Regions from separate parts of the Homo sapiens genome. Here regions 2, 3, 4, 5 and 6 are each linked to region 1. Evidence: promoter capture Hi-C in 16 types of primary human blood cells and fetal thymus (Javierre and others, 2016). All regions are on one chromosome and are shown on one strand. Each heading gives the region's core, a stretch centred on a gene start or on the middle of the fragment in contact. The rest is flanking DNA. Distances are from core to core; before and after follow the strand shown. Region 1 holds the start of RTRAF (RNA transcription, translation and transport factor). Region 2 has its middle 8.1 kb from the start of TMX1. Region 3 holds the start of PSMC6 (proteasome 26S subunit, ATPase 6). Region 4 overlaps LOC124903315 (a long non-coding RNA gene). Region 5 overlaps LINC00519 (long intergenic non-protein coding RNA 519). Region 6 has its middle 26 kb from the start of LINC02310.

Region 1 (4,974 bases), core at 1,400-3,899:
TTTTTTATGCAAAAGTGTTACTAAAACTAAATCAATGGGAAAATGATTCAAGGCACAAAAATATGATATACCAGAGATCATTTAAGGACTATTTCCCTAGCATACAACAAGGGATATCTGTTTACATTAAATATAAGCATAAACACGACAGTCTTGGTTTTCAAGCATCTCAATAATGTCTTTTTTTGAGACAAGGTGTCACTCTGTCGCCCAGGCTGGAGAACCTCAGCCTCCCAATTAGCTGACACTACAGACACAGGCCAGCACACCCAGATAACTTTCTATTTTCTTGTAGAGACAGGGTTTCATCATGTTGCCCAGGCTGCTGTCAGAACTCCTGAGCTCAAATGATCTGCCACCTCAGCCTCCCAAAGTGCTGGCATTATAGGTGTTAGCCATCACACCTAGCCAATGTCTTCTTTTAATATAAGAAATAGTACTGTGTTTAACAAAAATTCTGATTTGGGCCATAAAGGGAAAGCGAAATATTTACATCATTATTTATTTAAGAAACTTCATGTTTCTAGAGAAAACTATTTCTACCTAATACTGAAAGCTTGGTAGGAAGACATAAAATAATTTGCTCTAAAAGCAAAAGACACATCTAAGAAAAAAGCAAAATCCCTGAAATCCAGCTTTCCTAACACTGATCATTATCATTTTTTTCTTAAAAGAAGAAAGTAATTTTAAGCTCATCTTCATGATTTTTCAGACAAACTCTCTGTATTTTTACTTTACTTCCTAATTCATTACCTTTTCAAAGAACTTGGGCCAGTCGCTGCTGTGGATGTTTCTTAAATTCCCTCTGTCTTCAATCTTGTAGTGCCTGATTTTCTGGTCTTCAAGCCAAACGATGAAGTTTCTAAATTCTGTTTCATCTGCAATAAAAAATATCACATAAATAACTAGAAGCACTACATAAAATACCTCCTTCTCAGGTATATGTTCAGATATATGTTCTTGTGGAATTTTCTTAACTTCAAAATACTAAATTAATTGAACCAAAAGAGGGAGTTGAAAGTACAGATTCTGGAGTTGAAAGTACAGATTAACAATGATCTGTTCAAATCCTGGGTCCAGATACTTACTGGTTGTGTGAACTTGGGATAATCACCCACATTTTCTGTGCCTCAGACTCTTCAGCTACAAAATGAGGGTGCTAATAGAACTTACCTCATAGAGTTATGAAGATTAAAAGAAGTTGTTTTATTTAAGAAGTTTCTTAAATAAAATAAATACGGATAAAAACAGTGCCTGGCACATAGTTTTGCTATTTAAGTGTTACATATTAATATTCCAGTTCCTTTGCGGACAGAAAGGGGAAGGAGGGCAAGGTTAAATTTATAGCAAAGTAATAAAGTAAAATATACAACAAAATAATAAGTAAAAGAAATTAAATGACAAAAAAGACACTGTGACAACTGTTGTCATGGAATGTTAACTGCACATTAAGTGCATAATTGTTTCGTTTAATCCTCCCCATACCTCTTTTGAGGTAGGTAATATCCCATTTTACAGATAAGAACATTGAGACTCAAAGATTCCAATCCAGAACAAGGCTCTATTGTCACTGATACTTTTTTGTTAAAGTAGAAAAACAATAGATTATAATTTGATATGCTTCTACAGGCGATCAACAAAACACTGTCATCCTGCTTAGAAATTATTTTCAATTTGTGAGTCAAATTCAAGCTTCCATTATAAGGTCTTGAGAATTACACAGTGGTCTGAGTATCACAAGTTATACTTGATCACTTTCAAACTTACCAGTCTATCACAGGCCACAACTATACAAAGGAAACGAGTAGTGGTGGGTAGCAGTTTAGTTACAGTGAGTAGCAACGTTATTACTTTTTAAAATTCTAATGCTGTAAAATCCCAAATACCTTTGTATTCACAATTCAACCTTCCCACTCATCTGCTATTAACTTTTTTGCAACACCACATAACACAACTAGCCCGTTACTACACGCGCTTACCCTCCCACTGTGATCGGTCCTGATTTCATTGTGTACTGTCTCAAACTGCTCAGTGGGTTCTGATTGCTTCCACCCCTCGTCCCTTTAGCTCCTGGCAGGCAGTGAACTAGTCTTCAAGTTACTCAGCACCTTCCTCAGAATCCAGCACCGCGCTGGCCCATAATTAGCAGGTGCTCAAGGTATCGCCTAATTACCCAGGGAACCATGGAGTTGAATAGTGAGTGAGAAAGACGAATGCTCTCCCTTTTATGTACAGAGAAGGTAGTTACGTGATGCTTGGAGTTAAGCAAGTGCAGAAAGTAACATGCCGAGACAGGAGTAGGTGAGAGGGCTTTAAAGGCGGGAAGGGGCGGCGAAGAGCCGAGGTACGTGGCGACCCAGAGGAGAGGGGCCCGGAGGCTGCCGGCGGAAACCAGGCCGCCGAGGGTCCCGACGGGGAGGTGGGGTGCGGGCACTGAGGCTGGGACCTCCGCCCAGGTCAGGGACACGCGGCCGGGCTGAGGCCGCCGCCTCACCTTTGCAGTTGAAGCCGGCGGGGTTGTGGTAGTCGAGAGCCGTCAACTTGCGTCGGAACATGGTCCCCGCTTCTCGCTCTGGTCCCCCGGGCCTCGGCCGGGAGAGAAGAAGCGAGGTGGAGCGGGAGGCGCAGGCACCGGCGACGCGGCGAGAGGGCGGGCAGGCGCTGAGTCGCTCCGAAATGACGGCGGCCTTCGCCAATCGTGGCTTAAAAGCGGTGGCCGCCGGCAAATGCCCACCAATCGCGGCTCCGGCTGGGGAGGCGGGGCCACGTCGGCGCACGTCGACGCTCAAATAAACTTTATTGTCAGCTTCCTGGTTGTACAATAGGCAGAAAACCACCGGGAAGCCACTTTCCTTTCTTTCTTGCTATAGCATGCAGAGAATAGTATATGTAGGCTTTTGGTATTCGCTGTACCTCCCGTTGGATTACAGAATTACTGTTTAGTGTTTTGAGTGCATTCATTCATTTTATTACTCCTCCTACATAACAGGTGCTCTTCTAACACTGGTAATACAAAGACTACAAAGCAAGGTCCCTATAGTAAGATGCTTTCAGACTAATTGGGAGTGATCCACAGGTAAACATACAATTGTTAATACGATGCGATCGTTCCAGATATCCTCAGCCAGAGTGAAATCTGAAGCCGAGATCGTCCCTCACTCCCCCTCACCCTCGGTCACAGCATCCAGTAGGTCACCAATTCCTGCCATTCTGTCTCTCCTAACTCTCAAATCCCTCACCTCCTTTCGGACCCCACTGATACAGCCACAGATCAGATCCTCATCACTTTTGCTTACTCTAATTATCTGATTGATTTCTTAGGGCCAGTCCTGCGTTCTCCAAACCATTCCTCCATACAGCGATGAGAGAGATTTTTCTAAAGCAAAAACCTGTACATAACTTTCTCTGCTTATGTTTTAGTGGTTCCTGGTTACCCCCTAGAAATAATCAAAACTCCTTATTGTATTTAAGATCTTTCCTGATCCAGTCTCTACTTGCTTTTCAGACAGTGGAGAGAGAGCAGTGAACAAGACAGACCAGGCCCCTATTTTCATGGAGTTTAAAAGGCTAATGAGGGAAACAATAAACAGATAAGTATAAACTAAGGCTTGAAGATGGTGAGGCATTCACCATGCAGTCAAAAGGGTAACCTAGTTTGAGGGAAGAGGATGTATAAAGGCAAGAAATGAGCAACAGCATGGCCCAGAGGGACTAGAGCTTATAGGGGCTGGAGGGTGAGAGGGAATGACAGCTGATAAGACTATAGACAAAGGCAGGGCTCTGATAAGGAAAAGCCTCTCATGGCAAGCTAAGGGGAGCTATTGAAATTCTTGGGGGTAAGCCAACTATGTACGTTTCATTTCATTTCATTAATTAAGATTTTAATTAAACACTTAGGATCTGAGGAGCATACAAATGAGTAAACTACAGTCTCTATTTTCAGGAAGTTTAAGTATAATGACAAATATAGATGTGTAAATAAATACTTATAATCTGGAGTTAGAAAGAGTAAGTGAATTACAAGAAATATAAAATGTACTACAAAGAAGTACAGGCCAGGTGCAGAAGCTCATGCCTGTAGTCCCAGCACTTTGGGAGGCTGAGGTGGGAGGATAGTTCAAGCCCAGGAGTTTGAGACCAGCCTAGGCAACATAGTGAGACTTTGTCTCTATTAAAACTAAAAAAAAAAAAAAAAGAAGAAAGAAAAATTAGCCTGGCATGCTCGTGTGTGCCTGTGGACCCAGCTACTCAGGAGGCTGAGGTGGGAGGATCACTTGAGCCTGCAAGGTTGAGGCTGCAGTGAGCCATGATCACACCAACCTGTGCAACATGTAAGACCCCATCTCAAAAATAATAATAATAAAAAGAAGTACAGAGGCTAGAATACAGCTTTAGTTTTAAGGGGGCACTGTAAGATAATCTGTATTTTTCAATTAAGGTGCTTATAGAGTGAATCAAGAAAATCAGTTCAAGAGTGTCTCATTTCCAACAAAATTTGATCAAAGATATGGCTATAATCTCATATTGTAGTGCATGCTAGTTGTATAATTAATGAAATACTAACCAAAAAATGAAAAAATGAACCAATCATGGAAGGGAAAATAATAAATACTTACATATAAATAATAAATTAAAAAGGGGGAAAAATACAATTGCAGACCATGAATTTCTTTAAAAAAATAAGGAAAAACATCTCTTACCATTTGTTTTCTGAAATTGACCTTTCAAGGCAAAAAATGAAGTTGTTTGCTCCTGGCCTAGTCTTTCCACTTCAGGGTCCCCATTGTCAGCAACTTAAGACTGTCCCTAGTCATCAGCCCCGGCCACCACCAGGAGTGGGGAGGTTGGAGGAAGATTCAGATGATGCAGAATGCTAAAGTGTCAGGGGATACTTGAGCAGGGGATAAAGCAAACTTTGGGAAAGAAGTATAAAATAAATATTAATCCATTTTTTATGTTAAAACCCAGTTATCT
Region 2 (4,974 bases), core at 1,779-4,278, 760 kb after region 1:
ATCTGCCTGCCTCAGCCTCCTAAAGTGCTGGGATTACAGGCATTAGCTACCACAACTGGCATGTTATTGTTAATATGGTTGGATTTCTGTCATTTTACTTTATGTTTTCTATATGTTTTATGACTACTTCATTCCTCTATTCCTCCTTTACTACGTCTTTTACAATAAACACTTTCTAGTATAACATATAATCCTATAAGAATTTCTTATAGTGTATATTTTGAAAGTTTTTTTTAGCATTTTCTTTAAAGTTTACTATATATATTAATTTATCAGAATCTACTTCAGATTTATACTAACTTAATTCTAGTGGGATACAGAAACATTACTCCTATGTAACTGTTTACTCTTTCTACTTTTTGTGTTATTGTTATATATTGTATCTATGTTATAAATTCAGTAATATATTGTTATAATTATTAATTTATGTACTTTTATGTTTAATAAAGAAGCTGAGGAAAGAAACAAGAACAAGTATATATTTAGTGTTTATTATATTAATATTCATATTATCATTTTTGGTTATCTTCATTTGTTCCTGTGGATTTAAATTATCATCTGGTATAATTTCCTTCCTCCAATACAACTTTGCTCCCACCCACCATCTTTATGCTGTTGTTGTTAATTATATTACATTTCTGTATGTTATAGGCCTAACAATGCAATTGTAAAAAATTGTTTTATACAATTGTTTTTTAAATCAGCTAAGAGACAAAAGGAAAATAAATATACATTTATACTGCCTTTTATAATTACATAATCACCTTTGCCCATTCTCTTTGTTTTTCTTGTGGCTTTAAATTACCATCTAGGCACACTTGCTTTTAACTTGAGAAGCTTCCTTTAGTATTTCTTATAAGGAAGATCTGTTTGCAACCACTTTTCTCAGTTTATGTTTATCTGGGAATGTCTTCATTTAACCTTCATTTTTGAAAGATGGTTTTGTTCTATATAAGATATTTGGTGTATAGTTTTTTCTTCCAGTGCTTTGAATATGTCATCCACTGTCTTCTGATCTCCATTATTTCTGATGAGAGGTATCTAATAATCTTATCAAGGTTCACTTGTACGTGACAAGTTGTTTTTCTGTGGCTGCATTCAAGTTTTTTTTTTGTCTTTGTTAGCATTTTTACTATGATGTATCTGGGTGTGGAGCTCTTTGCATTTGTCCTATTGGCATTTGTTGAACTTCTTGTACATTTAGATTAATGTTTTCTGGAAAATATGAAGGTTTCAGTCATTATTTCTTCAAATCCATGTATTTTTTGCTCCTTTCTCCCTCCTTTCCTTCTGGTAATCTCGTTAAGCATATGTTGGTAAACTAAATGGTGTCCCACATTTATTGCTCATTTTTCTTTATTCTTTTTTCTTCCGTTCTTCTGATTGCATAATCTCTGTGAATCTATCTCAAGTTTACAGATTCTTTCTTCTGCCTCCAAATTACTGGTGAGCGCCTGTAGTGATTTTTTTTATTACAGTTATTGTACTTTTTAACTCTAGACATTCCATTTGGTGCTTCTTAAAAATAATTTCTATTTATTGATATTCTCTTTTCGATGCAACATTGTCATCATACCTTCCTTTAAGTTCTTTAAGCACGATTTATTTAAGTTTGTTGAATATGTTTATAATGAATGCTTTGATATCTTTGTTAAATCTGACATTTTGGCTCTGTCACAGGTAGTTTCTGTTGCCTACTTTTTTCTCTGATCTATGGGTCATACTTTGCTATTTCGCTGCATGACAATTTTTTCATTGAAAACTGGACATTTTAGGTAATACATTATAGCAATTCTGAGTACTGATTCCCTCTATATGGTTTGGACTTGTCTTTTGTTTTTATTTGATTGTGGTTTGTTTAGTGACTTGGCTAGGCTATTTTGGTGAAGTCTATTTCTCCAGTAGCGGAAGGCCTCTGCTCCCATTTCTCAGAGAGTGCAGCCTTGGACATGTGCACCGTCACCAGGGGATATCAGTGGTTCTAGCAAGGCTCTCTTTGACTGTCTCTTTCCTTGATCTCTCTGTTAAACTTTCTGTCTCGTTTGGTGTTACCTCTAGCTGTTGTGCTACACTAAGTGTAGGATGATTTCTCTGTTTAAGAAGATACCCCCTGGGGCATAAATTGCTCCACAGTCTAATCCAATAAAATTCAGGCATTGGTAGTTTTTGAGGCCAGTCTTGGAGGTTTCCTCTAACCTCAAGAGGGCTCTTCTTAGTTGTCTCCTTCCCTGGTTCTCTCTGGTAAACTAGCTAGCTTATGGTTTAGCTTGTTGCTTTTTATTACAGGAAACTATTGTTTTTTTTAGAGCAACCCGAGGCTTGACCATCACCCACACTCTGTTTCAAATAAAGGTAAGTCCTCTGGGGAGAGCTTCAGGGCTCTCTGTTTTTATGGGCTGCGTCTACTCATGGGCAAAATTGCTTAGTTATTATTCTGGGCACTGGGTAGAACAGGAGGCTCTGATCTTCTTGACTTGCTTCTGAAGTGGAACCTCTGCCATATGAGCAAGCTGGGTTAAGGGTGATTGGAGTTCCCAGTGTTCTCACTCTGCTGCACCTGGCATAGAACTTTTGTCCCCTGTATGGGGCCACACTTACCAGGAATTTAGCCTTTGCAACTCAGAGTTGGAATGGATGAAAAATGCTGGTGGCCTTTTCCTCCTGGTGAGATATTGCCTCTCTTGATTGAGAGTTGAGGAGACAGGGAGCCCTATGTTCTTGGTCACACTCACCCAGAGTAGAGTTTTGACCAAGATGAGCTCAGGGGGTGAGGAAGATGGGTAGGAATCGAGTGTATGGCTCAGACGCCATAGACTGTTACTGTTCTTACTCAGTTTTAGTGGATTTTCTTGAAAAAAAAGAATGCTTCTTCATTTGCTGTATGCCCTTAGGACAATTTCCACAGACTTTAGATGGTTGTTTTTGTTTTTATAGTTTTCAACAGTATTATGGGATGAAGTTGTGTGCCCCCTCCAAATTCATGTGTTGAAGTCCTAACCTCTAGTAACTCATAGTGTAACTGTATTTTGAGATAGGGTCTGTAAAGAGTCAAGTAAGTTAAAATGAGGTCATTAGGGTGAGCCCTAATCCAGAATGACTGGTATCCTTGTAAGAAGAGGAAATTAGAAAACAGACTTGTACAGTACAGAGGGAAGACCATGTGAAGACACAAGGAGAAGATTGCCATCTACAAGCCAAAAAGAAACACCACAGAAGAAACCAACCCTGTCAAAATCTTGATTTCAAACTTCTAGCCTTCAGAACTATGAGAAAGCAAATTTCTGTTGTTTAAGCCACCCAGTTTTTGGTACTTTGTTATGGCAGCCCCAGCAAACTCATACAACCAATTATGCTTGTTTTGCTGGGATGGGTCTACACTGCCATCTGGAAGCCCAACCCAAGCCATCATCTTGTCTCATGTGGATTATTACAACATGCAAGGTTCTTAACTAGTCTCAATGCTTTTATACTTGCATCCTCCCAGCTCACCAAGTATATTTTCCTGTCTAAAACCAAAGTGGTATTCCTGAAACACAAGGCTGACCATGTCATCCCCTACTTAAAACTGTTTAATGGCTAGGTAACATGCTTTCTATTATCCTTAGCATAAAGTTCAACTTTCTTAATATAGTCTCCAAAATCATACTGTATCTGGCCTTTTCTAATGACCAAGCCTCAGTTTTTGACCTCTTTTGTACTGTCTGATAAAGTCATACTAGGTTTCTTACAGTACCTTGACCAAGCTATATTTTCTCTTCTAGGTTTTTGTGGAAGGTATACTGCTCCCCTCATTCCCCAACTGCCCTGCTTCATTGCCACATAACTATTCAATCTTCAGATTTTACCTATGTATCCCTTTCTTCAGAAAGTCTTTCCTAAGCCAATTAGTTTGGGTATGATGTCTTCCCTGGTACACTCTCTGAACCCTGAACTTCTAACTTCACATTTAGTATACTGTATTGTATTTGCCTACTTACTTGTGTCTCCCCCACAGGATTGTGACTCCAGATTATGAACTGTGTCTATCATGTTTATCATTGTTTCTTCAGTACCTATAGGTCATTGGTATTACCAGATTCTGCAGGCTAATTAAATCTATAGCCCAAAGAGTTAGAGACACCAAGATTACATAAAAACATAGAAGTTCTATGTGCTTAACTCAACAGACATCAATGTCTCTGTATGTATACACACACAGACACACAGACACATATATTAAGTCATATATACATACATATATAAAGTCAATGTAATGAAATTTTTCTGTATATTTATAACATAAACGTAAATGGAAAGTATAGATTTCTTTTACCTTTTAAGTTTTTAAAATTTAGAAGGTAACCGATACTTGGAACACTAGTCATCAAACAAAACATGACTATTAGCCTGATAAATCAGAACAGCACTTTTGGAAATAATTTGGCAATATATTTTAAGAATTAGAAATATGGTTCATACAGGCCAGGCACGGTGGCTCATGCCTGTAATCCCAGCACTTTGGGAGGCTGAGGCAGGCGAATCATTTGAGGTCAGGAGTTCAAGACCAGCCTGGCCAACATAGTGAAACCCCATCTCTACTAAAAATACAAAAATTAGCTGGGCGGTAGTGGTGTGTGCCTGTTATCCCAGCTACTCGGGAGGCTGAGGCAGGAGAATCACTTGAGCCTGGGAGGCAGAGGTTGCAGTGAGCCGAGATCGTGCCACTGCATTCCAATCTGGATGACAGAGTGAGACCCTGTCTCAAATTTAAAAAAAAAGTTCCTACATTCTGGAACCCTACTCTAGGTACTTCATCACATGGAATGAACTGAAAAGTGGGACCTTTTTCCAACATGTATGCGAAAAAATCTTCATGTATGTTTATAATTACAGATGAATAAGAGAAAAGATATTATCTCACAGATATTGTAGTAAACAGTATCACTGATATCCTGAAAGGGGAAAGCCTTTTGTATATCAGCTTGGAAAAGAAAT
Region 3 (4,974 bases), core at 1,512-4,011, 720 kb before region 1:
AGGAGAAATCAATATGAAGCTATTTCAATGTTTACATCTATAGGAAATACAGGCTGAGTATTCTTAATCTGAAAATCCAAAATGCTCCACAATGTGAAATTTTTTGAATGCTGACATGATGCTCAAAGAAAATGCTCATCGGAGCATTTCAAACTTTTGATTTTTTTTAATTAGGGATGCTCAACCAGTACAACACAAATATTCTAAAACCTGAAAAAAAAAAAGCCAAAATCTAAAACACATTTCTGGCTCAAGCATTTTGGATAAGGGATACTCAACTTATATATACTTCGGCTTTTCTAATGTTTTTTAGTCTTCAAATACAGTCTTGTCCTCATGCAACCTGAAATATCTTAGAAATGCCAACTTTCGGCATCCACAGAGCCCTGAAAGGGACATGAAAATCCCTTGTCAGTTTAGGTATCTAATATTTTGACTTAGAAAATGTCAACCGCTTATATACTAGGCAAAATCCTAATAGGAGATTTATAGTTCCTGGATTAAATTCTCCCTTACAGCCATGTTCTGTGAATGTTTTAAAACCTGAACCTGAAATGACAATTAAACAGAGAAAACTCTTCCAATGAATTTAAAAGAATTATCTAAGGACACTTCCTAAAGAATAATACATAAATTGATTTCAGACACTACTGAATGACTTGAGGTCATTTGTTGGCATCTTTGATAACTGTAAAATAAAATTTAGAATTATTTCAACTTGCCCTACCCTAATCTAAATGACCTCATACAAAATTAACTTAGGCCATGGTACAGTCCATAAGTAACAGTTCTGAATGTCTAAATATAAACACAGGTAACTGATGATATCTAACACTTTTAAGTCCTCTTTAAAAATGACATTAAAATAAAATGTCTGTTTTCCAGTTCTAAAATACTTTTATTTCTAAGTGGCTATTAACAGATCTGACTGAGACAATGTAATACAGTAGAAAGTACGGAATGCCAGGAGTCAAAGCCCATGGTTTGAATTCAGGCTTTGTTAATAACTAGCTATGTCTGAACAAATCATCCTTGTGAGTTATGGGCATAAATGCTCCACCTGCTTGCCTCAAGAATTAGAGACAATAACTTACATGAAACTGCTTTGTCAATCATCAGGCACTATACAAATATAAAGTATTACCTGTCGACGACAACCCACAACATATCTTGGTCCATTGGTAGCTTTAACAATGACTAGAAGAAAAAACATAAAAGAACTAATTGAAAAATAGAAAGTAAAAAAATACATACCCACGTTGACAGAGGGTTTAGTTGTATTTCTGTCCTCCAAGGAGACATTAGTTGAAGGAAAACTTAAGTCTATTCAAAAATACTCTCTCTCTCTGCATTATTGTCATTAAAATAATAAGCATTTCAAAAGTGAGAGAGAGGTGGACTGTTTCTTTACTAATTAATAAGCTAATTCATCACTCACATTTTTCTTCAGTTAACTGTTTAAGCACTTCACCCACGATCTAAGGAAGAAAATAAAAAGCATTACTTTTTGGCAACAGCTAAATAAAAAAGCAAATTACCATCACCCCCTATTCCCCAAACTCCATCACCTACCTGCCCAACACTCTGTAGGGCCTTCAGATCATTTTCAGACTTTTCATACTGCTTGGTAAGTTCTTTTAATTGTTCCCTTACTGAAATAATACAATTTGAACATTTTTAATTGAACAGTAATCTTAGTGTGTTTAAGTCGCTACGTCTCACTTTACTGTTTACGTAAGTCTACTTCACTTTACCTAAGTTTCACATCCACTGTTTCAAACCATAAAAGAAATAATGCTGTTTGTAATGAGTAGGTGGCATGTATAACAACAAAATGTTACAGAGAAAGCACCATACTTTTACTTTGTTGATCGGCAATACTTGTTTAAGCACATCTTAAGTTATAGTCTTAGAAGATATTGACACCCTGACACTTAGGATTTGCGACTACAAATCCGAATGATAATCACTTAGACCCTTCCTCACCTCTTCACCTACCCACGTGGATTGTTCTCTGACATTCTACCCTAAATAAAGTCAACAAATGCAGTTCTCCACAGAATCATGTAATTATGGTCCTCCATTTAATTAAACTACTCATGCTTTTCAATGAAAATGCACTGGAAAAAAAAGTTAAGCACTCAGGAGGTAAGGGAAATTTGTATGCCTGATACAGTACAACACGAAACACAAGACGATATGGGTTATTATGACAACTGGAACACTTCTCTCTTAAGCTCCGCGGCCGTCTTTCGACTCCAAGAACAAGCCGACTCCCTGAGTCTCATCTCTTGTTTGAGCTTACTTGACTCAAGCGCCTTCCCCTCTCCAAGTCCCGGGACTCCACCAAGACTGCCCTTCTTGCACCCTAACCTGGGAAACATCCTCGGCCCACTTCCCCACTCCTCCTCTACTTCTTTTTCATTTTCACCTCAAGGCCGCCGATGTTCTGTCACCCGGGCTGGACTGGGCCATTTCTACACCCGAAGGAGTGCTGCTCCACAAGCTCAGGGCCGGATGACAAAGCGCCTTGTCCCTGGCCCTAGGCCTGGTCATCTCTAAGGCTCGGTTGCCGGGCTCGGCGAAAGGCTTCTGCTTTGTCAGAGGCAGAAGCGAGTCGAGGCACTTGATTAAATGGAAAGAAAGGTGCACTCACACTCCTTAAGACGGCCGTCGATCTCCTTGTGTTCAAGCAACTTCTTGCGGTAGTCCTGAAGCGCCTTATCTCTAGGGTCCGCCATGATGAGAAGCCGTCTCTCATAGGGGATGCCGGGAATGGCCATGGCCGTCCGGGCGGGGGAAGGGGCGGGGCGAGGGGCGAAACCCTGCCTGGAGGGGTGGGTTCGCCCATGAGCCCTCCCCTTCCGGTTGGCCCCGTCTTTCTACTCCACTTCCACCTCTATGTCTCGGTTCACCTAGAGCGCCGGCATACACTGAAAGAGGCCTCCACCTATACCGTTTCTTGCAAGCCGAGATAGGTAAAGCAGGACTCAGTTATCCCGGTCTTCCCCTGAGAGGCCTCAGTATTAAGTCACTGCTGTCCCGGAAGTATAAAAGGCTCTGTAATAAACTGAGATGGAAGTGAAGTAGGAAATGTGTAATACCTCAAAGGAGTTCCGATGGCCTGTCGACACAACACAGATGGCCTTTGTTATAACACAGTACTGTCCAAGACCTCCACGTGCTGGAGAAGTAGACAGTTTTATTCATCCATTCAGTCAGTGAATGAGGTATTAAAGGTAGATCTGCTTATCATTTGATAGGAAATAATAATAAAAAAAACTTCAGAGTTTAACAAATACTGTGAAGGAATTAAAACACGGTGAGAAGTATGGTGGGAAGAATTAATCTAGAACAGATATCTGAGATGAGAAGGAGCCAGCCTTGCAACAACTGAAGAAAACCTAAACAAACAGTGCAAGTCCTGGAGTGGAGTGGGGTGGGGGTTGTGGGTAGAAAGCTTGACTCACTTCCAGGAACAGAAAGGAGGCCAATGAGACCAGTAGGGGGTGGGTTGTAGAGATGTGGGGTACAAGATAAAGATGCTGAAGTAGGCTGAGGCAGGAACTTTGAAGTCTGATAGAACCTTCAGATTTATGTATTTATTTATTTACTTTTGAGATGGAGTCTTGCTCCTGCCGCACAGGCTGGAGCGGTGACGCGATCTCAGCTCACTGCAACCTCCACCTCCCGGGTTCAAGCAATTCTCCTTCCTCAGCCTCCGGAGTAGCTGGCATTACAGGTGTGCGCCACCACAACCGGCTAATTTTTGTATTTTTAGTAGAGACGGGGTTTCGCCATGTTGGCCATGCTGGTCTCGAACTGCTGACTTCAGGTGATCCACCCTCCTCAGCCTCCCAAAGTGCTAGGATTACAGGTGTGAGGCACTGCGCCCGGCCAGATTTTTTTTTTTTTTTTTTTTTTTTTGAGTCTGTGTCTCACTCTGTCACCCAGGCTGCAGTGTAGTGGTGCGATCTTGGCTCACTGCAACCTCTGCCTCCCGGGTTCAAGCGATTGTCGTGCCTCACCCTCCTGAGAAGCTGGGATTACAGGCGCCCGCCACCACGCCCGGCTCATTTTTGTATTTTCAGTAGGAATGGGGTTTCACCATGTTGGCCAGGCTGGTCTCCAACTACTGACCTCAAGTGATCCGCCCGCCTCAGCCTCCCAAAGTGTTGGGATTACAGGCGTGAGCCACGACGCCTGGCCAACTTTCAGATTTTTGTGATTTGGGGAAAATTACATACTCCCTCAATATCTCTGTAAAATGATCATAATAATTGCACTTATCTAATGGGGTTGTCATGAGTATTAAATAGGATAATGTGCCTAAACACAACATCTGCCACATGGCATGTACTCAATAGTGTTCTTTTGAATAGATATTTATTTTAAGGGTAGTAATGACTCCAATTTTTGCATTACAGGTCCTCATTGCTATACCTCTTGCTATCATTGTTCCTGGGGACAATTAATTGTTGTCCAAAAAACATGAGTAAAATTCTCCAAATAGATTCCATTTGGTCTCACCTTATCCAATGGCCATGAATGTTTGAGTTTAAATATATACATCCTAAATATACAAATAAAGTACAAATTTTTGTAAATTAATGACCCAAAGTCACATAAAGGATGCCTTCAAATTTATTAGGAACAATTCTCATGGGTATTGTGTGAATATTCCATTCTATTTTTCTTTTTTTTTTTTTTTTTTTTTTTTTTTTTTGAGTTGGAGTCTTGCTCTGTCGCCAGGCTGGAGTGCAGTGGCGCGATCTCGGCTCACTGCAACCTCCACCTCCCGGGTTCAAGTGATTCTCCTGCCTCAGCCTCCCGAACAGCTGGGATTACAGGCGCACACCACCACGCCCAGCTAATTTTTGTATTTTTAGTAGAGACAGGGTTTCACCATGTTGGTCAGGCTGGTCTCGATCTCCTGACCTCGTGATCCGCCCGCCTCGGCCTCCCAAAGTGCTG
Region 4 (4,974 bases), core at 807-3,306, 700 kb after region 1:
TTATGTGTTTTTCACAATAAAAAGAAAAAAAGAAAGGGGTTGGAGATCTGAATATGTGAAAGGAATCATAAAAGTAACACAGAAAAGCAACTGTGAAGGACAGGCTAGCACCACTCGGGCCAGGAAACAAAGGGAAGAGCTTAGTGTTGTCACCCAGAAGCTCGGAGCAGGGCAGCAGATGTGGGTCTGAGGCCTCTGAAGAGGGGCTGCCCGGTTATTACAGGTCCTTGAGAGCAAGCACAAGGACGGCCCTGAGAGTGCCAGAAAAACACGGGAGGCTGCATCCCAAGGCTGCTGTAGGAAGGATGGCTGCTGAGGATAGTCTAAGGGGAAGCACAAGCAAAAGGAGGAATGGGTCCCTGCTCCTCCCTCCAGTCTTGCAGGCTCCCCACAGCACCCTATATTGGCAGAACCGACAGAGAGCTGCTGACAAAGAGGGATGTCTTTTGGAACATCACAGCCCAGTACCAAAAAGCAGGGCATAAAAAAGGGTGGTGAGGAGCTGAGCAATATCAGCTTAGTAATGGGCAGGGTAAAGGGAATGGTAAAACAATCAGCAACCAGGAACAGCAGGAAGCAATTATTGCCCCTAAGTCTAAGGGGCAAGAAGAAGGGATGATGTTATGGGAACCTTGTCAGGGCCATTAGGGACATGGCTGTGGGAGAGGGGCTGCCCAGCAGGATCTGTGGCCATCTGCTTAAACCCCAGCCAAGCAAGGAGGGAAGGGGGCAGAGATGGGGGAAGAAACCCCCTGACTTCTTTCTCTCTCCCTACCGGCTGGTCACCATAGCTTAAGAAGGAATGTTTAACATATATTTAATCAAAATGGGACCTACTAATATGCCTTTATCTGCATCTTCATCTCCCCATCTAAAGATAATAGTGACAATAAAACTGAAATCCCTCTAAGTTAATATACTTCAATTCATTCCTTCTCAACAGTTTAGCAGTAACTTGGCATGAACAAAATTTGCTTTTAAGCATGAAAAATTGGTGATTTTTACCAAATTTATTGAAAGCCTAACGTGCCATTAAAAGACTTGGAACTGATTTTTACAAACACTAGGAATATAAAAAGCAGAATAAATGTTTATCACCTGCTTCTCTTGCTCATTGTTGAAAAATTGCTTTGGATTCAAGTTCTCTAAAATGGGAATGATCATAATACACATCACACAGGATTGTAGTAAGGATGAAATGAGAAAAAAACAGGTGAAAGCACTGTGGAAAGGGGGGGTTTTATTTTCTGTTACCTTCAGCTTTCCCTGGATCTGGGTGTTCTTTAAAGCAGGGGTCCCCAACTCCCAGGCCATGGACCAGCGCTGGTCCATGGTCTGTTGGAAACCAGGCCGCACAGCAGGAAATGAGGGGCAAGCCAGCAAAGCTTCATCTGTATTTACAGCCACTCTCCATTGCTCATATTACCACCTGAGCTCCGCCTCCTGTCAGATCAGCTGCAACATTAGATTCTCACAGAAGCATGAACCCTATTGTCAACTGCGCATGTGAGGAATCCAGGTTGCATGCTCCTTAGAAGAATCAAATGCCTGATAACCTAAGGTGGTGATGCTAGTGCTGTGTAGTGGCTGCAAATACAGATTAACATTGGCAGGGAGGTTTGACTGCACAGAGACCATAATAAATCAATTACTTGCAGACTCCTATCAAATCAGTGAGTGGCAAGTGACAAGCTACATCTGGTGGCAGACTTTATAGCAACAAGTGAGTTGATGTCCTTCAATTGTACAACTGCATCTGGTGGCCTTAAAAGCACATTTGAGACAACTTCAAATCTCCGTATCTTTTGGATTAAAGTCAAGTTGGAATGTCCTGAGATTGCCATAAAAGCACTGAAAATCCTCCTTCCATTTCCAACTTTCTATCATTGTGAAGCAGGGTTTTCTGCAGTGACAGCAACCCAAACGAGATTATGGAGTAGACTGGACATAACCAACACACTTTGGGTGTCACTATCTCCCATCATTCCCAGATGGGACCATCTAGTGGTAGGAAACAAGCTCAGAGCTCCCACTGATTCTACATTATGGTGAGGTGTATAATTATTTGATCATATATATTACAACGCAATAATAATAGAAATAAAGTACACAATAAATGTAATGCACTTGAATCACCCCAAAACCATCCCCAACTCTGGTTCATGGAAAAACTGTTTTCCACAAAACTGGTCCCTAGTACCAAAAAGGTTGGGGATCATTGCTTTAAAGTACCACCATCACAATCACCATCATAATCACTGCCATCATCACCATCTTCATCATCACTATCATCATCATTACCTCCATCAGCACCATCATCATCATTATCATTATCCTCATCACTAACATTACCTTTTTTCCAGGCCCTATATTTCTTTGCCCTCAGGGCCTTCAAAATTTTATGGAGCAAAAAACCCTCTTGGAGGGAAATAAGAGATGAGATTTGGAGTCAGAAGAGTTGCGTTGGAATGCTGGGTTTGCCATTGACTAACTGTAGGATCCTTCTGAGTTTCCCAGTTTTCTCATCTGTTAAACAGAAATACCTACCTACCTCTGTTGATTATTTTCCCTTTGCCCCTCCAAATCCATTCTCTGCCCTCCCTTTGCCATCTTATTTTGTATCTTGTAAGGATGACTTTTACAGACCAAATCACCTAGGCTCCCTTGTATGTGTATATGTTTGTAGGAATATTGATAGAGGGCTGGAAATATACATATCAAGCTTAAGTTATCTGATTTAAGAAAGCAGTAGTGGTGGCTGGGCACAGTTTGTTGCTATTTTATGAGCAACAAAGTGTAATTCCAGCACTTTGGGAGGCCTGAGGTCAGGAGTTCAAGACCAGCCTGGCCAACATGGCAAAACCCCGTCTCTACTAAAAATACAAAAAAATCAGCTGGGAATGCTGGCACGTGCCTGTAATCCCAGCTACTCAGGAGGCTGAGGCAGGAGAATCACTTGAACCTGGGGAGCGGAGTTTGCAGTGAGCTGAGATCATGTCACTGCACTCCAGCCTAGGTGACAGAGCAAGACTCTGTCACAAAAAAAAAAAAAAAAAAAAAAAAAAAAAAAGCAGTCATGGTGATAGTGGTAGAAAGATTAGGTATGGAAAAAAGATGAGCAAAATGAAAAATATTTACATGTGAAAATATTCTGCTGAGCAAAAAAACTGAGACACAAAATCATAACTATGTCTGATGTCATTTGTGTGACATTCTAGAAAATGCAAACTAATCTGTAGTGACAGAAAGCATATCAGTGGTTGCCTGGGGCCAAAAATGGAAGGAGAGATTAACCATAGTAGGGTATGAGGGAACTTTCTGGGGTAATAAAACTATTTGGTGTCTTGATTTTGGTAATAGTTACAAGATGAATACATTTGTAAAACCTCAACCACTTGTACAATCATTTGTACTAGTTTATTATTATATGTAAATTATACTCAGTAAAGTTGATCTGAAAAATACTTGGGCTAGGAGCAGTGGCTCACACCTGTAACCCTAGCACTTTGGGAGGCTGAAATAAGAGGACTGCTTCAGACCAGGAGTTCAATACCAGCCTGGGCAACACAGTGAGACCCTGTTTCTACAAAAATTTTTAAAAATTAGCTGGGCGTGGTGGCACACACTTGTACTTCTAGCTTACTTGGGGGGCTGGGGTGGGAGGATTGCTTGAGCCTGGGAGGGTCAAGGCTGCAGTGAGCCATCATCATGCCACTGCATTCTAGTCTAGGTAACAAAGTAAGACCCTGTCTCCAAAAAAAAACTCATGGCATAATATAAATGGAAGAGATATATAATAGAATTCTAGCAGTAATATTACTGTAAGTCTGTACAACCTAAATGTACACACAAGGACTAAAAGGTACATGGACCAATGAATACATCAGCTTGGTGCACAGATGCCTGCTATTTTATGAGCAACAAACAAAAAAGAAATGAGCTGAAGAAGGCTCCTGAAGACAGCAATGCCTACCCAGCAATGCCAAACTCAATGTAAGGTTGCCCTTTACAGAAATATGGTATGGGAGTACCGAAAGCAACAAGAGGAAATAAAACTGTCTATAGGATCCTGATGGGGGTCTCATTTTACAATAAAAAGAGCTTTATGCAATGGACTCGAGTTATAATGAAGCTTAAAGGGAGAAAGAGAGTGGTCTCAATGCCACTGTGGCCAAATAAGATTCCTAAATTGCTTTCCAAAGATCAATTTCTTATTTTGTAAGCAAAAAATAACACTAGCCTTCAAATGCCAACTTTTCAAGACCCCAACTTCTACTGTGAAATATTCCCAAAGACATGGGAAGAAACATCTATTGATTCAAACATAAAAGGTGTTTGGCTCATCAGCCCTGTGCTAATGGTTCAAGAAATTTAAAACAACATAATTAACTCCCTGAATTTATGGAACTAAGCAGAGCCCATCCTCTTTATGTCAGACCAGTGGCCCTCATCCTGGCCCCAGATGCATCTTCAGAACTTTTAAAAGTACAGATTCCTGAAAACAACCTTTGGAGTTTATGACTTAGGTCTAATGTTGAGAACCCTCTGCTAGGCACTCACCTTGGTATTTTTATGCACTCCAAGCATTCCAACATAGCCCTTGGAGCACCTGCCATTTTCTGGCATAAAAGTTCTGTGGTATTCTTTCTGTACTCTCCCCAACTCTATGGCCCGAAGATTTTAAAGATATGCAAAGCATCTTCCATTCCCAGCTGAGACTGGACACACCTGAAATAGGTAAAAGTGACAGAAAGACTGGATGGTATGGAACACTCTTCCAAGTTTCCAGGAAAAGGGCTCAATCTGAAACATAATTATTTCATTTCTTCCTTTCTACTTCCTAAGCATTGATGGTTCAGTTAACAAATGGTACCTGAGAAGCAGTGTTAGCACCTTGATGCAATGAAAGTACAAGGAAATGAGACGACCTCCTGACCTGCTTTTGACACCCCCACATATGCCTGCCTCGAGATC
Region 5 (4,974 bases), core at 1,375-3,874, 680 kb after region 1:
TCTTGAGGGTAGGTTTCTGTTCTACAATCAAGTATCATCTTCCTCCTAATCATGGGAAATGCTGAGGAGATATTCACCTTTCCTCAGTGTGGATAGTGTGAGAAAAAGATCAAATCCAGGAAAAATGAGTACCAAGAAGGAAGGGGGGGAATCCACCTTTATCCATGTAGATAACTTCAGATGCAATCCCAGAAAGGGGCAGTCATGTTCCCATGGGTGTTTAAACATGGCTGGAATATAGCTAAATAAAAGCAAGCTAATTATCATTGATGAGCACACATGCTATTTACCTTTGGTGAGCCTTTTTCTGAACTTGAACAACGGATTTCCAATATTTACCATTGCAATGATTCATAAAAAGTTAAGATATTCTGGATCAAAATTGCAGTGTCCACTAAAAATACTCAGTTCTGACTTCCTTTTCAAATCAATGTGAAAGGCCATACAAGGTAAGTATACAATTCCACACTCAGTTTGAGATTCCAGAGTGTTACTTGTGAAAATAGATAGATGAGATTGTGAGGGGGGGTTGCAGATTCTAGTAATAAATGCATCTCTTCTTCGTATAAGATCTTCTCGGGGATGTGTCACTATCCTACACTGCATTGCTTCTGTTTCCAATTAGTTTCCAAAGCTACCATAGCCACAGTACACAGAGTGATACAGACAGGAAGCTAAGACAATTGTATACCTCTCTTGCATGGTTGATAATTTAAGCAGTAGAATGTCCAAGACTGTACCCATTTGGGGCTTTATTCATCATGAACAACAAGGTTTTTTTCCTGGCCTTATAGTAAATCTTTCATCAACAACTACAGTGAACAACACAGATCCAAGAATAGAGTTATTCTGTGTGACAGCAGAGAGAAGAGTCAGATGCATGATCCAAGGAAAATTCCCAGAAGGCATGAAGCCAAACCAAAGTAGGAGGGAGCATGTGGTGGAGTGGGCTTGAGTGAGCAGCTGTTTCCCACTATTTTCCTCTCAGTCAAAACTCTTTTTATTGCCACTGCCCTTAAGCCACATCAATAGCCTTGCCATGATTCTCTTACCTCGATGTATTTCTGTTCTTGAAATGAGATGGAAAGGCAGAAACCTGAAGAGTCTCTTTCTCTTCTCCATAAATCACCAACTAGATTAAAAAATAGAGCCCATTCACCAGTTACTCTTCTCATCTCGTAGGACTCTATTAACATGGTTTTGTCAAGTGTGCTATAAGGGAAATGGCTTAGGGAAGTTGGCAGACCTCAATAAACCATCGCATGGTTGTATTGAAGTTGAACAGTTAGAATGGCCAGGTGGCATATTACCAAAAAGAATGCCAAGGGAAAACTAAAAAACCTCTTTGTGAAGGTCTTATTCCTAAATACACAAACATTGAACCCCAAAAAATGAACAAATCTTCAAGATTGCAGATTGATTTAATAAATTTATTCCAGAATCCCATATATAATAAATGATTAAAAGAAAGGAACAAAGTTTCTACTAGGATGTCTTGAACACAAATAGCTCTTTCATTGTGTATAAGCCTAGTGAAATTTCATTCCGATGGAACAGCCTGTTCTGCCGTTCACCTTCATAAAGCTTCATCTAAGGATAACGGCCATTCAAACAATCAAATTACCCACTGTGGTTTCTTAAGAAAGGTGCAGTTCTGTATTTCTAAAATGTTCATTTATGTAATTAATGACTTTGGACTTGCAGGGAAATATTCTCCTGATTATTTGATACAATTGTAGGGCATGAATCTACTGGCAATGATCAAATCTTAAACACAAATGTGGAATAATTGCTCAAAATACATGTAAAAGTCTTTCATGATTAAATTAGCATGGGACTGAGAACCAAAAGTACTGTATAAGAATCACTGCATTTACCTGAAATTTTTCTGAGAAAATCAACATATCTATCTTAGAAATCATAGAATCTCTGAGGGGGCTGAGACCTTAGATAACATTAAAAGCAAACTTCTTTGGTAGGGTGACCAATTCTTCCAGGTTTGCCTGGGATTTTTCTGATTTTAGCACTGAAGATTCTAAGTCTTAGAAAAATCTCTGAGTCTTGGGTAAACGAAGTTGGTCACTCTACTCTTTGGATTCATGAATCTTCTCTGTGACATAACATAGAAGAAACTTAACTGAGACTTCACAGAGTTCGGTTAGAACACAGAATAACACAGACATGGACTTCACAGAGTTCTATTCTCCGTTGTGTCAAAATCAGTGCTATGATCTATCCTTGCTCTGCCTTCCACAGCAAGACAAAGTTTATTCCCTCTTCTACCTGGTAGCTCTATGAGTATGTGAAGGCTGCCCTTCCCATCCCACATTTCCCCAATCCAGTCTCTATTCTCTAGGATAAGCTGGCCTAGCCCCTTCATCTGCTCCTTGAGTGTTCTCATTCCATTGGTAACCTCACTACTCTCCTCTGGGCAGGCTCATCTGTCAAGGTCCCTCAAGCACTGACAGGCCAAACTTAGCTCAAGGCTCTGCACAATGCCTGAGCAGACTTCATGAGCCCCTCCTTCATGGGCCTGGGTGTCATGTTCCCATGCAGACAGACATTCCTTTAATTCATTTGTCCACCATATCCCACCATCAGATAAGAATACAATTCATGTCAACATAAAATCATGAAGATTTTTTACATATGCTATTATTCAAAGCTCTGCCATCTTGTAGTTTTGTAATTGAATTGGTCTTTAGACCCAAACATCACACATTTATCCTTTACAGTGAACCCATTATTCCAGCCCATGATCCCAGCTTTGGATCATAATTCTATCACCCAAATTATTCATTCCAGTAATTTGGTTCCAGGTTCATATAGTATGCAAATGTTTTCTGCATGTCAACATCTGCAATCATGCAAATCATTGGCAGAAATGTTGACTAGGTCAAGCGGAATACCAGATGATTAGTCAGTACACACCTATTGGCTACATAAAGGCAGGTATTCATGTGGGTCCTTTATTTTGAAATATTCTTTAGGGCTTTCCCTTCCAGATTTTAGAAATTGAAACAAGAAAGAGTACAAACACACAGTAGCCACACTTTCTTCTTTTCAACCAGTAACTGCCTTCTCTTTACCTTGAGCCCACATATATTCCTTCAGGCATTTCCAAACTTCAATGAAACAAGTTATGATAGAAATCCCATCATGAGCTGGAACTGAGCAGCACTGAGTGTGAATCATGAGTGCAGAGCTGCCAGTATTCTTGACTCTCTTCTTTCCTGGCACACAATAGGGCTGCATTTGCCCACCACTTTTGAGGTTGGGCATGGCCGTGTGACTTGTGTTAGCCAATGACATGCATGTGGAATGATATGTATTACACACTGGCAGGAGCTATAAAATCCAGCTATGGGGTTTGTCATGTTTCCTCCTCAGTGTTGTTTTGATCAGGGAAAGAAGTGTCAAGACAAAGCCTTCATTAGCCTGGGTCCCTGGGAGAACACAACTCTTAGTAGGGTGAATATGAGGGTGATGGATGTGTCAGAGTTCCCCTGCGGACCCATATTGGACATGCAGGTTGAGTAGGAAACAAAGCCCCTGAGATGTCGGTTGTTTTTTTTTTTCACTGTTCTATGACTTTGCCTATTACACAGGGTAACTACAATGCAGAAGTAGAAAAATACATGAACTCCTGTTTACAAGAAGCTTACAGTATAGTTGGGATAAATCATACCCACAAAATACAAGTAAGGACTCAATTAGCATGAAGTAGGATGCTAAACTGAAAAGTAGAGATAATTAGCCAGTAAGATGTGGTGCTAAATGTGAGTCACTGAGATGATGCATTAAAAGGGAATTAGTAAAATAGGAGCTCAATGTGGGCTTACAATTCTCAGAACACATTTCATTTCCGCTAAGCAAAAGTGCAAATTATATAATTTATTGAAAAGTATTATAGGAAATGGTTCTACAAATATGTTGACTCTTCTCTTTAAAAACTGTAATAAAAGTGTGGGCTTAAGTTATGGGGCCATTTTCCATGTATTTGATTTCAGTCTTTTCTAATAAGGTACTTAGTGTTTTTTTAATGGACATATTATAGATCTTTGTCTATAATGGACAGATTTAGCACTTTATCAAGACAGAGGGGTCACCCTTTCCAGGAGTTTTATAGAAACCTTGGCAATTATTGCAACGCAGACAAAATGGGGCTGATCATAGCACCCACTTAAATATGATTGACTTTATTTCACAGAAAGGTCCGTTATTACAACGACACAGATAAATATTCGTCTGAATACCCAATATCAATTTGGCTGACCTAGCAAAGATATGGCCTTGTTTCTTTTTCAAATATATTCAGCCTCTCCTTTCTGTCCTTCTATAGGGATGAAGGAAGTTTGGTATTAATTGGAATAGTCATTCACTCATTTAGCAAGCACCTACTCTCTGCCAAGGACTGTGCTATTATGAATAGATATTGGTTATTCATTAATGAGCACAATAGTCTAGGGTCTGTCCTCAGGGAGCTTACAATGCAGAGGGGGAAGAGACAGACAGCAGAGAGGGGAGGGAGAAGGACTTTCTAGTAGAAGAAACACCATGTCTTCCCTACTCTGAATCAGAAAGTTTCGAGTATTCAAGAAAATCAAAGTCCAGCATGTATCAATCAAGCAGGGTAGATGAAAAGGAAAGTTGCTTGAGATGAGACTGAAGTTGGGTAATGGGCAGGCCACATGGGACTTGGACCCTCTCTTAATTTTTTTTTTTTTTCATTTTATCTCAAATGCCCTCAGAGCTTTAAACAGGGGGTACAATGTGACACAATTTCCATTTTAAGAAAGTCACTCTGGCTGTATGAAGAATGAACTGGTAGGGTTAGTGTAGAGATGGTGGAGTAAGAAGAACTGTTGTAGAAGCCCAAGCAAGAGGTAGCAGTGACCTAGACTGGAGTGGTAGGGATAGTAATGGCATGAAGTAAATAGACTGAAATATATTCGGAAGTAAAATCTTAGAGGG
Region 6 (4,974 bases), core at 1,727-4,226, 620 kb after region 1:
CAACTTTATGCTCCTTCCACCACTACCCCACACCCTTAATATCCATTCCCATTCCTGTTCTCCAGATTTCTGCTTACATAAATTAGAAAACTCAAGCAGTTATTTTGGAGCGTAGTGCCCCTCCTCATGGGTCACACTCTGAACCTCACCTCTAGGGGCCTGCTGGGACCTGAGTCTATTGTTATAGGTCTAGAAGCAAACAGGGGTGTTAGGGGTGGGTGATAATGGTTTGGCTATGTCCCCACCCAAATCTCATCTTGAATTGTATCTTGAATTCCCATGTGTTGTGGGAGGGACATGGTGGGAGATAATTGAATCATGGGGGCGGTTACCCTCATGCTGTTCTTGTGACAGTCAGTGAGTTCTCATGAGATATGAGGGTTTTGTAAGGGGCTTTTCTCCCCTTCGCTCATTCTTCTCTTTCCTGCTACCTTTTGAAGAAGGACATGTTTGCTTCCCCTTCTACCATGACTGTAAGTTTCCTGAGGCCTCCCCAGCCCTGTGGAAGAGTGAGTCAATTAAACTTCTTTCCTTTATAAATTATCCAGTCTGGTGTACATCCTTAGAGCAGCATGAGAACCGACTAATATGGTATTAAACAATATATAGTCAACTAGAATTTAAAGGCTCAGGAGGATCCTAAAAATAGCATCCATTTAAAAAATGTAATTAAATCACTGACATATACCCAGTATAAATCCTAGGAAAAGTGTTACAGTAGGGTATATTACAGCAGAGTACACAGTGTTTAGAAGATGTGCATTGAGAAAATATTTTTAAATGTTCACCAGCACAGTTCCTAGGCTTGGCAGTATGCTATTCAGGGTGGACGTGATAATTAGATTACCTCCTCTTGGCAAATTATACTGTTAAATTTTCTTCTGAGAGAAAGCAAACGTGCTACTTAGTGTTATAAATATTAAACACCTACTTTTTTACATATTGTTACTTTTTGTCAGACTTTTTTCATGTGCATGAGGAAGACTGAAAATAATTTCCCCAACGTATAGCAAATTCAATCAGAAGGCCACATGGAAGGAAATAAATGTGAGTTATTGTTCCTGTTGTTACTGCTATTGCAATCACCCTAATCTTCTTATTGAAATTTCATATTTTAAAGACAAATTTTGCCCTCCACCGTCACCACTCTAAGAAAAGTTTGGCATCATCGACCACCTCCTTGAAATTTTCTCTGATTTGAAAAGGGAATGCTTATACACTCCTGGTGGGAGTGTAAATTAGTTCAACCATTGTGCAAAGCACTGTGGCAATTCCTCAAAAAACTTAAAATAGAACTACCATTCAACCCAGCAATTCCATTACTGGGTATATATACAAAGGAATATAAATCTTTCTACCATAAAGACACACGCACACATATGCTAATTGCAGCACTACTCACAATAGCAAAGACAAGGAATCAATCTAAATGCCCATCAGTGGTAGACTGGATAAAGAAAATGTGGTACATATATACCATGGAATACTATGCAGCCATAAAAAAAGAATGAGATCATGTATTTTCCAGGAACATGGATGGAGCTGGAGGCTGTCATCCCTAGCAAACTAATGCAGGAACAAAAAACCAAGTACTACATGTTTTCGCTTGTAAGTGGGAGCTAAATGATAAGAACTCATAGACACAAATTGGGGAGCAACAGACACTAGAGCCTATTGGAGCATGGAGGGTGGGAGGAGGGAGAAGATTGGAAAAAAATAGGTATTTGGTACTAGGCTTAGTACTTGGGTGATGAAATAATCTGTACAGCAAACCCTGTGACACAAGTTTACCTGTGTAACAAACCTGCACATGTACCCCGAACCTAAAATAATAGTTAAATTTTTTTTTCTCTGATTTAACTTCCATGATACTACTGCTGACAGCTAACAGTTTTTGAGTTGTGGCGGTGTTCCAGGCACTGCTTTTAGCACTTTCGAGTATGATCTCCCTTAATCCTCACAATAACTCTATGAGCAGATACTTTAAATAGCCTCGTTTTACAGATAGAGAAATTGAAGCATGCAGAGGTGAAGTTGCCCACCATAAGCCAGCTAGTTAACTTGTGGAGTCTGAATTTGAACTCAGCCAGTCCTACTTGAAGCCCATTGTCTTTTCTACCACATTGAAGCTTGTCATCTCCAACTCGTTGGGCTATTTAGAGTGACCTCCTGTTGTTTCACTTGTTATGTTCTCTTTGCTACTTTCTCATTGCCTCTTTTAATTGCCCCAACTGATTAAAAACAAAACAAAACAAAAAGCTCAGGACATAGTCTTCCTCTGCCCTGAAGTTCTTTCTCCTGTACTTATGGGTCATTTTCCTGACAGTGGGGGCACAGCCTGTATCTGAGATCCTACACATAAAATACTTGCCTTGTGTTTACTAAATGGTATTATTACATGACAATGATCCTGTGCACCTTCCAAAGCACTTCACATACACATTTTTATCTGATTCTCAACTCTGCATGTTGAAGGTCAAGTTTATATTTCTTTCCAACTTTTGGCCTCCCTATTCTTTCAGGACACTATCATCCTCCTACTCATCATCAGAGTCATCTTTAACTCATCTTTCTTCTTTAGTCTCTACATTTGATCTGCTACCTAGTTTTATGGATTCCACTTCCACCAAGCTTTTGAGCTTTTTCTGTCCTTTGTTTCCCCTGACACTAAAGCACTACTGCATGAATGCCACCCCTCTTACTCAAAAACATTCAATGGTTTCCTACTAGCTGCCAAATTAAATGCAATCTCCTGAGTCAAACGTTAAGATTTATTTTTATGTCTTTACCTTGCCACTCAGCATTAACTTAATCCACTATGTGAGTCCTACACTCATTCATATTAGATGGAATAATCTACACCTAATCTTTAAGCAAAGGGGAGCACTGTAGAGTTTCAGATGGATTAAACCTCACACATTTTATCTTATATGTGTCAGACTTCTCTCTTGAGAACCTCAGAGTAATTTGACCTGAAAAGCCCTTCTAATATCTTGCAGATATCAGCTAAGACTACTTCACTTCTTTTAAAGTAACTACTTGTTATAGCTTGGATGTGGTCCCTGCCCAAACCTCACATTGAAATGTAATCCCCAGTGTTGGAGGTGGGGCCTGATGGGAGGTGACTGGATCATGGGGGTGGATTGCTCATGAATGGTTTAGTGCCATCCCCTTGGGACTGTCCTCGAGATAATGAGTGAGTTCCTGGGAGGTCTGGTCATTTAAAAGTGTGTGGCACCTCACCCTTCACTCTCTTGCTCCTGCTTTTGCCATGTGATGTACCTTCTCCCACTTTGCCTTCCACAATGATTGTAAGCTTCTTGGGGCCTCCCCGGGACCAGATGTCACTATGCTTCCCGTACAGCCTGCAGAACCGAGAACCAATTAAAACTCTTTCTTTATAAATTACTCAGTCTCAGGTTATTTCTTTATAAAAATGAGAGAATGGCTTAAGACACTTATTCTTCATATTCAAATTTTCAAAATAATCTCCACATTTTAACACAGCGAGCAGCTCCTTCCATTCCATGTAGCAGTGGAAAAGGAAAAGAGAGTGAGAGGATACTGCTGGGCTATTGAAATTGTGAAAATCCCCTTTAAAAGTTCTCCCTTAGGAGGCTGAAGCAGGAGAATCTGTTGAACCAGGGAGTTGGAGGTTGCGGTGAGCTGAGATCGTGCCACAGCACTCCAGCCTGGCAACAGAGTGAGATTCCATCTCAAAAAAAAAAAAAAAAAAAAAAAGTTCTCCCTTAACCCAATAAAAGAATATGGTTCCCAAATAAGAAATCAGAGTGAGAAGGAACATGATTATTACATCTTAGGGCCATAAGCAAGGCTACCCTGAATTATGAAAACCGCATAGTGAGGCAGGTAGCGCACTTTTTCCTTGGCTTTGGTTTAAGAACTTGCTCATATGAATCATCTTTAAACCCTAATTGATAATTTTATTTAAACTACTCTATTTTTAAAGAAGTAAAAATTACCTTATTCTCTGATTATGGTAAACCTGATCCTTTGGCCACACGACCAAGGCGCTGAAATGCCCCCTGATGGCCGCCTATCATAATTGCAGACTCATACCTAGCCCCTCGAGGGTTCTCTAACTTCAATCTGTACTCAGCTATTTGCCTATGTAGTGCGGTTTCAGGGTTCCATTTGTTCTAATTTTGTGCCCACTTTTTAAAAATCTTCACTACCTAGCGGATGCATGGTATTCTTCTGATAGTGCTTTATTTCTTTATCACAAAAGCACTGGAAGAGTGATAGTTCTGTGTAATTTGCACTGTGATATAAACAGGTTACTCTTTGGTGTTAAGTTCACAAGTCTTAGCTGGGATGAATTTTGACACTAGAGAAACATTCCAGGGTCTTCCGAGAGAAAAGAGTATTACTGGCAAAGGTGAAAGAAGGGTACAAAATGGAGAAACTAGATAGACCAAAGACCAATTATGTTTTCAATGTTCTCTCTTTACAAAACCATGGTCGGGGCCGGGGGCGGTGGCTCACGCTTGTAATCCCAGTACTTTGGGAGGCTGAGGCGGGCGGATCGCCTGAGGTCAGAAGTTTGAGAGCAGCCTGGCTAACATGGCGAAACCCCGTCTCTACTAAAAATTAAAAAAAAAAAACAAATTAGCCGGGTGTGGTGGCGCGCGCCTGTAACTCGGGAGGCTGAGGCAGGAGAATTGCTTGAGCCCGGGAGGCGGAGGTTGCGGTAAACCGAGATTGCGCTGTTGCACTCCAGCCTGGGCAACAAGAGCGAAACTCCGCCTCAAAAAACAAACAAACAAACAAACAAATAAACAAAAACATGGTTGGCTTTCGGAAGAAAGTGGCTTATGAGGGAAGCAAAGACATTTTGGTAAAAAGCGAGAAAAATCATCCCTCTTAAGTGCCTCTACACTTCATTGCCAGCACCAGCAAACTATTCTGCAACCCATCCTGAGAAATTTGTTTAACCTAGTTCTCAGCACATGT

The links. Contacts are between HindIII fragments. The CHiCAGO score rates a contact against its expected background, and 5 or more counts as called.
Region 2: a contact is called between a fragment that was not itself captured here and the fragment with the promoter of RTRAF in region 1, in 1 of 17 cell types (non-activated CD4 T cells). The highest score is 5.1, in non-activated CD4 T cells.
Region 3: the fragment with the promoter of PSMC6 here is called in contact with the fragment with the promoter of RTRAF in region 1 in 4 of 17 cell types (total B cells, neutrophils, total CD4 T cells and 1 more); the score reaches 7.4 in total B cells.
Region 4: a contact is called between a fragment that was not itself captured here and the fragment with the promoter of RTRAF in region 1, in 5 of 17 cell types (endothelial precursors, M2 macrophages, megakaryocytes and 2 more). The highest score is 6.5, in endothelial precursors.
Region 5: a contact is called between a fragment that was not itself captured here and the fragment with the promoter of RTRAF in region 1, in 1 of 17 cell types (M0 macrophages). The highest score is 5.3, in M0 macrophages.
Region 6: a contact is called between a fragment that was not itself captured here and the fragment with the promoter of RTRAF in region 1, in 1 of 17 cell types (M0 macrophages). The highest score is 5.3, in M0 macrophages.

Annotation. Positions count from the first base shown.
Region 1 is chr14:51,987,221-51,992,194 of GRCh38, reverse strand. RTRAF (RNA transcription, translation and transport factor) reads right to left here and starts at 2,649. Exons shown (of 8, transcript NM_016039.3): 1 at 2,495-2,649; 2 at 754-878. The coding sequence starts at 2,555. It overlaps LOC105370497 (a long non-coding RNA gene), which reads left to right and starts at 1,611. Exons shown (of 3, transcript XR_007064166.1): 1 at 1,611-1,676; 2 at 3,506-4,974. RefSeq lists enhancers at 2,170-2,229, 2,570-2,864. The HindIII fragment of the contact is 14,873 bases long and covers 1,695-4,974 here.
Region 2 is chr14:51,229,680-51,234,653 of GRCh38, reverse strand. No RefSeq gene overlaps it. Among named protein-coding and RNA genes, the nearest start is that of TMX1, 8.1 kb to the left of the region's middle. The HindIII fragment of the contact is 4,378 bases long and covers 840-4,974 here.
Region 3 is chr14:52,704,987-52,709,960 of GRCh38, reverse strand. PSMC6 (proteasome 26S subunit, ATPase 6) reads right to left here and starts at 2,761. Exons shown (of 14, transcript NM_002806.5): 1 at 2,657-2,761; 2 at 1,573-1,652; 3 at 1,439-1,478; 4 at 1,145-1,197. The coding sequence starts at 2,741. RefSeq lists enhancers at 2,401-2,450, 2,471-2,720, 3,021-3,080, 3,101-3,210. The HindIII fragment of the contact is 4,351 bases long and covers 1-3,462 here.
Region 4 is chr14:51,287,650-51,292,623 of GRCh38, reverse strand. LOC124903315 (a long non-coding RNA gene) reads right to left here. Exons shown (of 2, transcript XR_007064164.1): 1 at 4,561-4,974. Among named protein-coding and RNA genes, the nearest start is that of LINC00519, 38 kb to the left of the region's middle. The HindIII fragment of the contact is 1,337 bases long and covers 1,388-2,724 here.
Region 5 is chr14:51,306,541-51,311,514 of GRCh38, reverse strand. All of the region lies in intron 1 of LINC00519 (long intergenic non-protein coding RNA 519), which reads left to right. Among named protein-coding and RNA genes, the nearest start is that of LINC00519, 19 kb to the left of the region's middle. The HindIII fragment of the contact is 2,076 bases long and covers 1,587-3,662 here.
Region 6 is chr14:51,369,093-51,374,066 of GRCh38, reverse strand. No RefSeq gene overlaps it. Among named protein-coding and RNA genes, the nearest start is that of LINC02310, 26 kb to the left of the region's middle. RefSeq lists an enhancer at 4,715-4,974. The HindIII fragment of the contact is 685 bases long and covers 2,634-3,318 here.